Regions from separate parts of the Homo sapiens genome. Here region 2 is linked to region 1. Evidence: promoter capture Hi-C in human tissues and cell types (Jung and others, 2019). All regions are on one chromosome and are shown on one strand. The core of a region is centred on a gene start or on the middle of the fragment in contact, and the rest is flanking DNA. Distances in the headings are between cores, read along the strand shown. Region 1 holds the start of RNF17 (ring finger protein 17). Region 2 overlaps SPATA13 (spermatogenesis associated 13).

Region 1 (3,873 bases), core at 946-3,445:
GAGGAAAAAGAGGCTTGCTACATGCTAGAATAGCATTAAGTGTGGAGAGAAATGTGAAGGTTTAAAGGAGAAAGTGCTTCTAAAGCTGATCCAGGAAGGATAAGGAGAATATGGGCCGGACGCGGTGGCTCACGCCTGTAATCCTAGCACTTTGGGAGGCCTAAGGCGGGCAGACTGCCTGAGCTCAGGAGTTTGAGAGCAGCCTGTGCAACACAGTGAAACCCAGTCAATACTAAAATACAAAAAATCAGCTGGGCGTGGTGGCATGCGCCTGTAGTCCCAGTTACTGGGGAGGCTGAGACAGGAGAATTGCTTGAACCCGGAGACCAAGGTTGCAGTGAGCTGAGATCTCGCCATTGCACTCCAGCCTGGGCGACAGAGCAAGACTCCATTTCTAAAAAAAAAAAAAAAAAAAAAAAAGAGAATATGAATTGATGAAGAGTGAACAGTAGGTATTCCAGATGAGGGGAATAGGGAATAATACTCACAAAACTGTAGAAGAGTCAACATGTTACATGAGAATATTGGCTTGATTAGTACTCAGTTCCATCATGGATTAGTAGTGGAAACTATTGGATGAGTAGTAGAATGAGGGTAATTTAGGGAAGCAGTACTTTTCTCTCGAAGACAACAAATTACAAAGATTTTTGAGCCGAAGTGAGCCTTTCAAGAGAATACTTACTTCACAGTTTCTAGTTACCCACACACAGTGTAGAGAGAAAAGAAAATGAGGAATATGGGCAGGCTTTATTCTTAGCAGCAAAAGGCAACCGTGCCACCTCCAGGTGTTTTGTTTGAAATACACCTGCCACCTTTCTACTAGATTACTTCATTCCTTGCTCACAAAACGTCTCATGCACTCTACTGCTTAAAGAGTAAAGTCCAAACTCCTCAGCCTTACACTCGAGATTCTCCGAAATTCTTCCCTGACACACCTCTCCAAAGAAGCTTACTTTAAGGAAACTCATACTCTGGCTAAATGGTCTTTAAATTCTCAAGAAGTCACTGTGTCTTCCATCTACCTTCCCTCACATCTACCTTCCCTCGCTGATGTGTTCTTTATTCTTGGAATCCCTTAGTTCTTGTTTACTCCTGTAAGTACTACCTAGGTTGTAAGGTCTAGTGCAAACCCTATATCCTCTACGAAGAGTTTTCATACCACCGTAGACCATATTGACTTCATTTCTTCATTGCTTTTTGTGAACTATGCTTGGACAAGTTGCTTCAACTCTTTTTTTTTTTTTTTTGAGACGCAGTCTCGCTCTGTCGCCCAGACTGGAGTGCAGTGGTATGATCTCGGCTCACTGCAAGCTCCGCCTCCCAGGTTCACGCCATTCTCCTGCCTCAGCCTCCCAAGTAGCTGGAACTACAGGCGCCCACCGCCACGTCCGGCTAATTTTTTTTTTTTTTTTTTTTTGTATTTTTAGTAGAGACAGGGTTTCACCATGTTAGCCAGGATGGTCTCGATCTCCTGACCTCGTGATCTGCCCGCCCTGGCCTCCCAAAGTGCTGGCATTACAGGCGTGAGCCACCGCGCCGGGCCCAGAAGGCTAATTCTTACTGTCTCTAACACAGGTCCGGTACATAACACTTATTTTGGCGGAAGTTACTGGGTTTTTTTAAGGAGTTATGTATCTCTCAAGCAGAAACCTGCTAGTTCATAAATTCTTAGCATCCCCAACCACTCTTGGCACGCTGCCTTGTATATTATTAGGCTCAACAGCAGTTAGTAATGATGAACACTCCTTAATTCGAAAGCGTTCACTGAATCTACCCCAACGATAGCTTCTCATTAGCTTCTCCACTCCAGCTGCTATTGGCCAAGCCCTGGATGCCCGAAGCACACAGGTTTAGGGCTTCTGGCCCTGACACGTAATAGGGAAAGGGGATTGTTTCAATCCAAATGATTATCTATAAAGTCACTCACAATGTAAGTAATAATATGCGAAATTTTAATTTGTGATGACTAAAAGCACTAAAGTGGTGACTCTTTGGGTAGAACGTAAAAACGAACGGTCCTCAACGGCCACAAGGCGCCCCTTCTAGGAGTGGTACCTCCCAGGATAACGGAAAACAGCCCCAGCCCCATCAGGAGCGAGCTTGGGGGCGGGCTTTAATCTCCCGGCCCACTGTTTGGCTATCTGCAGGGGCTGGCCTCCAATGATTGGTCGCTGCCGCGAGGGCCGCCGGGACTCGCACTCGGCGGTTGTTCCAGAAGAAAGAGACAGCGATGGCGGCAGAGGCTTCGAAGACTGGGCCTTCTAGGTCTTCCTACCAGCGAATGGGGAGGAAGAGTCAGCCCTGGGGTGCCGCTGAAATCCAGTGCACCAGGTGTGGAAGGAGGGTATCCAGATCATCCGGTGAGGAGCCCAAGGGCCCACCTAGCGGGGAGGCAGCCTGGAGGGAGCGCTGGGGGCCAGGTGAGCTGGTGGGCGCGTGAGGCTTGGTCAGCTGCATCCAATCCTGGTGTCACCAGAAACTGCGTCACAGGCCTCCCGCGAGCTGCACCCGACCTCTAAGAGGGCAGTGCTTGGGTTGGTTAAGGGCAGCACCTGCGCCTGTCACGGCTTTCTCCAATTACCCATCCAGGCCTCACCGACCCTCCAGCCGGGAGGATGGGGGCCCGGGTGGCTTTAATCTACTCCTCACAAGGCAGGTTAGCGGGTGCATGCAAAAGTAGACATAAAATGTAGCCCATTGTTTTGTCATCAAGAAGGAACGAAACTTGATTTTCTCCTGTAGTTTTTGTTGTAGGAGTAACAAGTAGACCATTGTGAAATGGTTTTGGATTTTGTTGTTGTTGTTAGCATTTTGTTGTTTCTGTGGGGGTTTTTTTGTTTGTTTTTTACATTATGGCTCACACTGGCCTAAAACACTGTTTGGAAAATGATAGTTTCTTTTGTGCACCTTGTGGGGTGTGTGTGTGTGTGTGTGTGTGTGTGTGTGTGTGTTGGTCTTTATACGTGAGGGGAAAAATACACTGCACTATTATTGGTCTGTTCACCTACAATCTACTCAAGTGATCACAGGTTCAAGTTATTTATTATTATTTTTTTCTTTGAGTTGGAGTCTCGCTCTGTAGCCCAGGCTGGAGTGCAGTGGCGCGATCTCGGCTCACTGCAAGCTCCGCCTCCCAGGTTCACGCCATTCTCCTGTCTCAGCCTCTGGAGTAGCTGGGACTACAGGCGCCCGCCACCACGCCCGGCTAATTTTTTGTATATTTAGTAGAGACAGGGTTTCACCGTGTTAGCCAGGATGGTCTCGATCTCCTGACCTCGTGATCCGCCCGTCTTGGCCTCCCAAAGTGCTGGGATTACAGGCGTGAGCCACCGCGCCCGGCCGGTTCAAGTTATTTTAATGTAACTTAAAATACCTTAGTGTGCTCTTAATACAGCTGAGTTGTTGAATCTCAATTCCTGGAGCTACTGAAAATTCGTATTACCTGGCGTAACTGTTTAATGTTTATACTTTCAAAGTTAAGGTCATTCGATCAGTTTTCTCAGTCTTGGCAAGATGGACTCTGTGAGATGTGAGCCTCTGCAGAAAAAGTTGTGATTTCAGTGGAGAACCAAGTTTCTCCTACTTGGGGTTTAGATCACTGCTACCGTTACGTAGAAAATTTCCATTTTTGAATGAAATTAAAATTACGGAATAAAGTTCTAGAACACAACCTTTTAAAATGAGTACTTCTTCCATACATTAGTATTATAATGCTTAGAAAAACTAAACTGGAGAAGTAGTGGTTATGTATATAGAATCCTGAAAGTGCTTTTTAAGCTGTAATTCACCACAAGTTATTTTGAGTTATTCAGTATCAGAAATTTTATAATAGTTAAGTGTTTTTATTTCTTTGGCAATATTATCCCTGGAAGT
Region 2 (3,736 bases), core at 413-2,912, 470 kb before region 1:
CCGCTTCAGCCTCCTAAGTAGCTAGGACTACAGGTGTGTGCCACCATGCCTGGCTAATTTTTAAAATTTTATGTGGAGATGGGGTCTTGCTGTGTTGCCCAGGCTGGTCTCAAACTCTTGGCCTCAACGATCCTCCCACCTTGGCTTCTTAAGTAGCTAGGACTACAGCTGTGGTAGAATTGGAAGGTCTTAAGATGTGTTTTCATCCTTCCAGGGACTGGATATCTTAGACCGAAGCTCAGAATTGATTCATTCTGGGGAGCTGACCAAAATCACTAAGCAAGGCAAAAGCCAGCAGCGGACGTTCTTCCTGTTTGACCACCAGCTGGTGTCCTGCAAGAAGGACCTGCTGCGCAGGGACATGCTGTACTACAAGGGCCGGCTGGACATGGATGAGATGGAGCTTGTGGACCTGGGGGATGGGCGCGACAAGGACTGCAACCTCAGCGTGAAAAATGCCTTCAAGCTCGTCAGTAGGACCACAGACGAGGTTTATTTGTTTTGTGCCAAAAAACAAGAAGACAAGGCGAGGTGGCTGCAGGCCTGTGCAGATGAAAGGAGGCGGGTGCAAGAGGACAAGGAGATGGGTGAGCAGCCCTTGGCTCTGCAGGCACCTGTGCCTCTGCTTGCTGTAATAGCTTCATTCTCCACTCCCATGGGCCTGCTCTGCCCAGCCTTCTCCCTCAGAGCTGAATCCCACCATGGGGAAAGGACAAGGGATCTGCAAACCCTAAATACTTCTGAATGCACTTACAAGACAGACCATGTCAGATGTAGTTACTACCGGCAACATTTATTCAGTATTTACCTTGTGCCAGACATTCTGTGGCCCATTTATAGAGATTGTCTCATTGAATCCCTATGAAGTGGTTGCTGTTATTATACCCAATTTACAGATGAGAAAATTGAGGCTTATGGAACTGGCCCACTCTTGCACTGTGGCCACATAACATTTAAATCCAGCACTTTGGATGCCACATGCAGGGTATGAAGAATAAATAATAAAACCAGTTCAGTGTGACCCCAGAGATGGAACCCCACTATGGTGACCATCACCCAGGCTATCAGAAGTATCACGTGATTCTGGAGGCCTCCCCTTTGGCTGTGCCTGTGCAATACCTTCAGTGTTCTTCACTGCCACAGTTGATCCACACCCAGCAGCCTGCCCTCATGCTTCCCATCTCTCCCTATGAAACTCAGGATGCCGCATCGTCCATTGCAGTTAAGGCGATGGTACTTCACACCCAGTGTTACATTTGTACTTCTTTGGTTTGTCTTCCCAGCTTCTGCTGACCTGGAGGTGCAGTGTGGCCCCTGAGACTGAAGCTGCCATGCCTGGCATTAATGATGGCAGCACCCACAGTCTCTGAGCCTCTATTTCATTGCCTCCCAAGCTCTTTAGGGTTTTGAGCACAATCTGTTGAATGGAAGTCAGGGAGCCACAGTGAAGGATATTCATCTCTGCAGCCCAAGTGAGCCCAGCCCTCAAAAGTCATGGTCCAGGACGGAGGGGAGCCAGCATACGCCCCTCCCCATCCTTGCCCACTGCCATGAGGACAGCAGGACTAAAAACCAGGAGGTGCTTTTTCTGTCCTCCCCAGCCACTGGCTCTAAGCTTGGCTACAGAATTTGGTCTCACCCACAGGAGGTTTTGTGAGATTCTGCAGTAGAGTTGGAGGGATTTACAAGTTGGTCAGGCTAAAACGGAAGCAGGGATCGACTTGGAAACACTCAATGGGTAGACATTGGCCTGGACTTGGGCCACTCCAAGATACAGAGCTCCCCACATCACAGGCAGCCCCTTACACCAAGTGTCAGGGTGTCCTTTACACTAAGAGGAAATCTGATTCCCAGCAACAGCCATAGATTATTGGTGCAGACTCTGGGGCCCCATTGGAATAGGGCTAATCACTCGTGCCCAGAATTCATTTGAAGATGACAGTTACTAAAATGCAAAATGACAGAGCCACAAAATCTTAGTTTTAGTCGTCATATGACGTTGTCTAGCGCAGGCCCTGAAGTCATCTGTAAGTCAGAGTGTTTGGATTCCCAAAGACGGCACTATTTAGTGGGGGCATCCTATGTGCTTTCAACAGTGTCTCTCAATAGGAAGGAAAGGAGGGGCCCGATGTGGTGCCCTTTGCCATGTAATGCTCCCTGTGGCCAGTGCTCAGAGATGCAAGTGCATGACTGAGGCACTCCTGAGCCAGTAAGTCTGTGAACTGGCACGTGTGGGATAAAACTGGATGCATTCCTTGCCTCGAATATTTTGGCAGCCCTCGTACTTGATGCATGTGTGTGGGTAGAAGCTTCAGGTAGCAGATCAGAGAGAATGGACACGGAGGGCCTTGGAGGCAGGGACAGCCCGGTGGCCAGCGTACAGAGCCTGAGCCTGACGTCAGGACAGTCTGGGACAGATGTTGGGCATGTGAAGGAATCAGGGCCAGGGGAGCAGAGTGGGCAGAGGTAGAGAGGGAGCCTCGGGAGCGAGCCAGGCAGTGCAAGCTAGCAGACACAGGGCCTGGGTCAGCTCTGCCAAGCTGGAGCGAGTACCTGCCTACAGGAGGAAGGCTTCCCGCGGGAGAAGGCAGGGCCCCAGCACCCAGCCCTGGCCATTCAGCTCTGTCCTTCCTTCTCCTTCCCCACACCCTGCGAAGCCAAGGGTTGCCTCATCTTGTCTTTCCAGTGACTCTTGTTTCACCCAGTTCACACACTGCACACGTACACTGTCACTGTGCTACTGGACTTTACAGTGAGGGAATGCTCAGGGCACACACTACACACAGCTGGGGTACAGAATCCGCTACCTGCTACTCACGTGGTACCTTTGTTCAGGGTGGAACTGCTAACGTGCAAAGCTCTCATAGCGTATGGGTGAACACGCCCTGGGACCCTTTGCTCTGTCCTCTCCTTCTGGGGCCTCATCCTTTAGGTTATAATTGGGATGACCCTGTGGGAATATTTGCCCGGGAGCGTCGGGCTTCACACAGACATTCTGCATTCTCATGAGCACCACCCCATTTCACTCTCCAAACTGTCCGGGTTTGCAGGACAATCACATGGCCACCTTGGCGATAATCCTTGTGACTTCCCCTTTTCTGATCTTCAACCTGTCCACGTTCTTTGAGGATTAAGGTTCTCTGTCTCAGGTTGTGGTGATAACCTCAATGCTGATATGGGCTGTGATACAAGTTTTGCTCTGAAACATGTCCACGTGTTCTGAATATATATCACATTTATTTCTAAATGCAGGAATGGAAATTTCAGAAAACCAGAAGAAACTTGCCATGTTAAATGCTCAAAAGGCAGGACATGGAAAGTCAAAAGGTAAGTTATGGAGAAGGCTTTGTCCCCTTAATGCTTATCAGTATTCTCCTGAAAATGGGAGCATACCCCAAGTTGTCAGCCTGTGACCAGCTTGGAGCAAGGAGAACAGTAGAAGTTAGAACTCAAGGGCAGGTCCAGAACAGGGGCCAGGTGAAGGTGGCCTGTGTTTGGTTTTGAATGTGCGTCAGTGTTTGCTTCCATTGGAATGTGGGCATAGGAAACCTTCAGAGGGGCTGCTGGAGGGTGGTGGACCTCCTTGCCTGCCTGGGGCCCCTCTGCTCCCCTCCCCCAAGTGCTGATGGTGTTAGCCACAAGGTCACGCACATCCCCAGTCTGAGGCAAACCAAGGACTCTTGCATCTTTTAGGCATGAGAGGACAAAATCTCAAACCCCAAACTGCTTGTCAGCT

The links. Contacts are between HindIII fragments. The study calls those that stand out against the background at their distance.
Region 2: a fragment that was not itself captured here is called in contact with the fragment with the promoter of RNF17 in region 1 in 1 of the 25 tissues and cell types used here (dorsolateral prefrontal cortex).

What each region holds. Positions count from the first base shown.
Region 1 is chr13:24,761,974-24,765,846 of GRCh38, forward strand. RNF17 (ring finger protein 17) reads left to right here and starts at 2,196. Exons shown (of 36, transcript NM_031277.3): 1 at 2,196-2,360. The coding sequence starts at 2,231. The HindIII fragment of the contact is 17,753 bases long and covers 1-3,873 here.
Region 2 is chr13:24,297,149-24,300,884 of GRCh38, forward strand. It overlaps SPATA13 (spermatogenesis associated 13), which reads left to right. Exons shown (of 13, transcript NM_001166271.3): 11 at 215-587; 12 at 3,253-3,327. Among named protein-coding and RNA genes, the nearest start is that of C1QTNF9, 11 kb to the right of the region's middle. The HindIII fragment of the contact is 4,817 bases long and covers 1-3,736 here.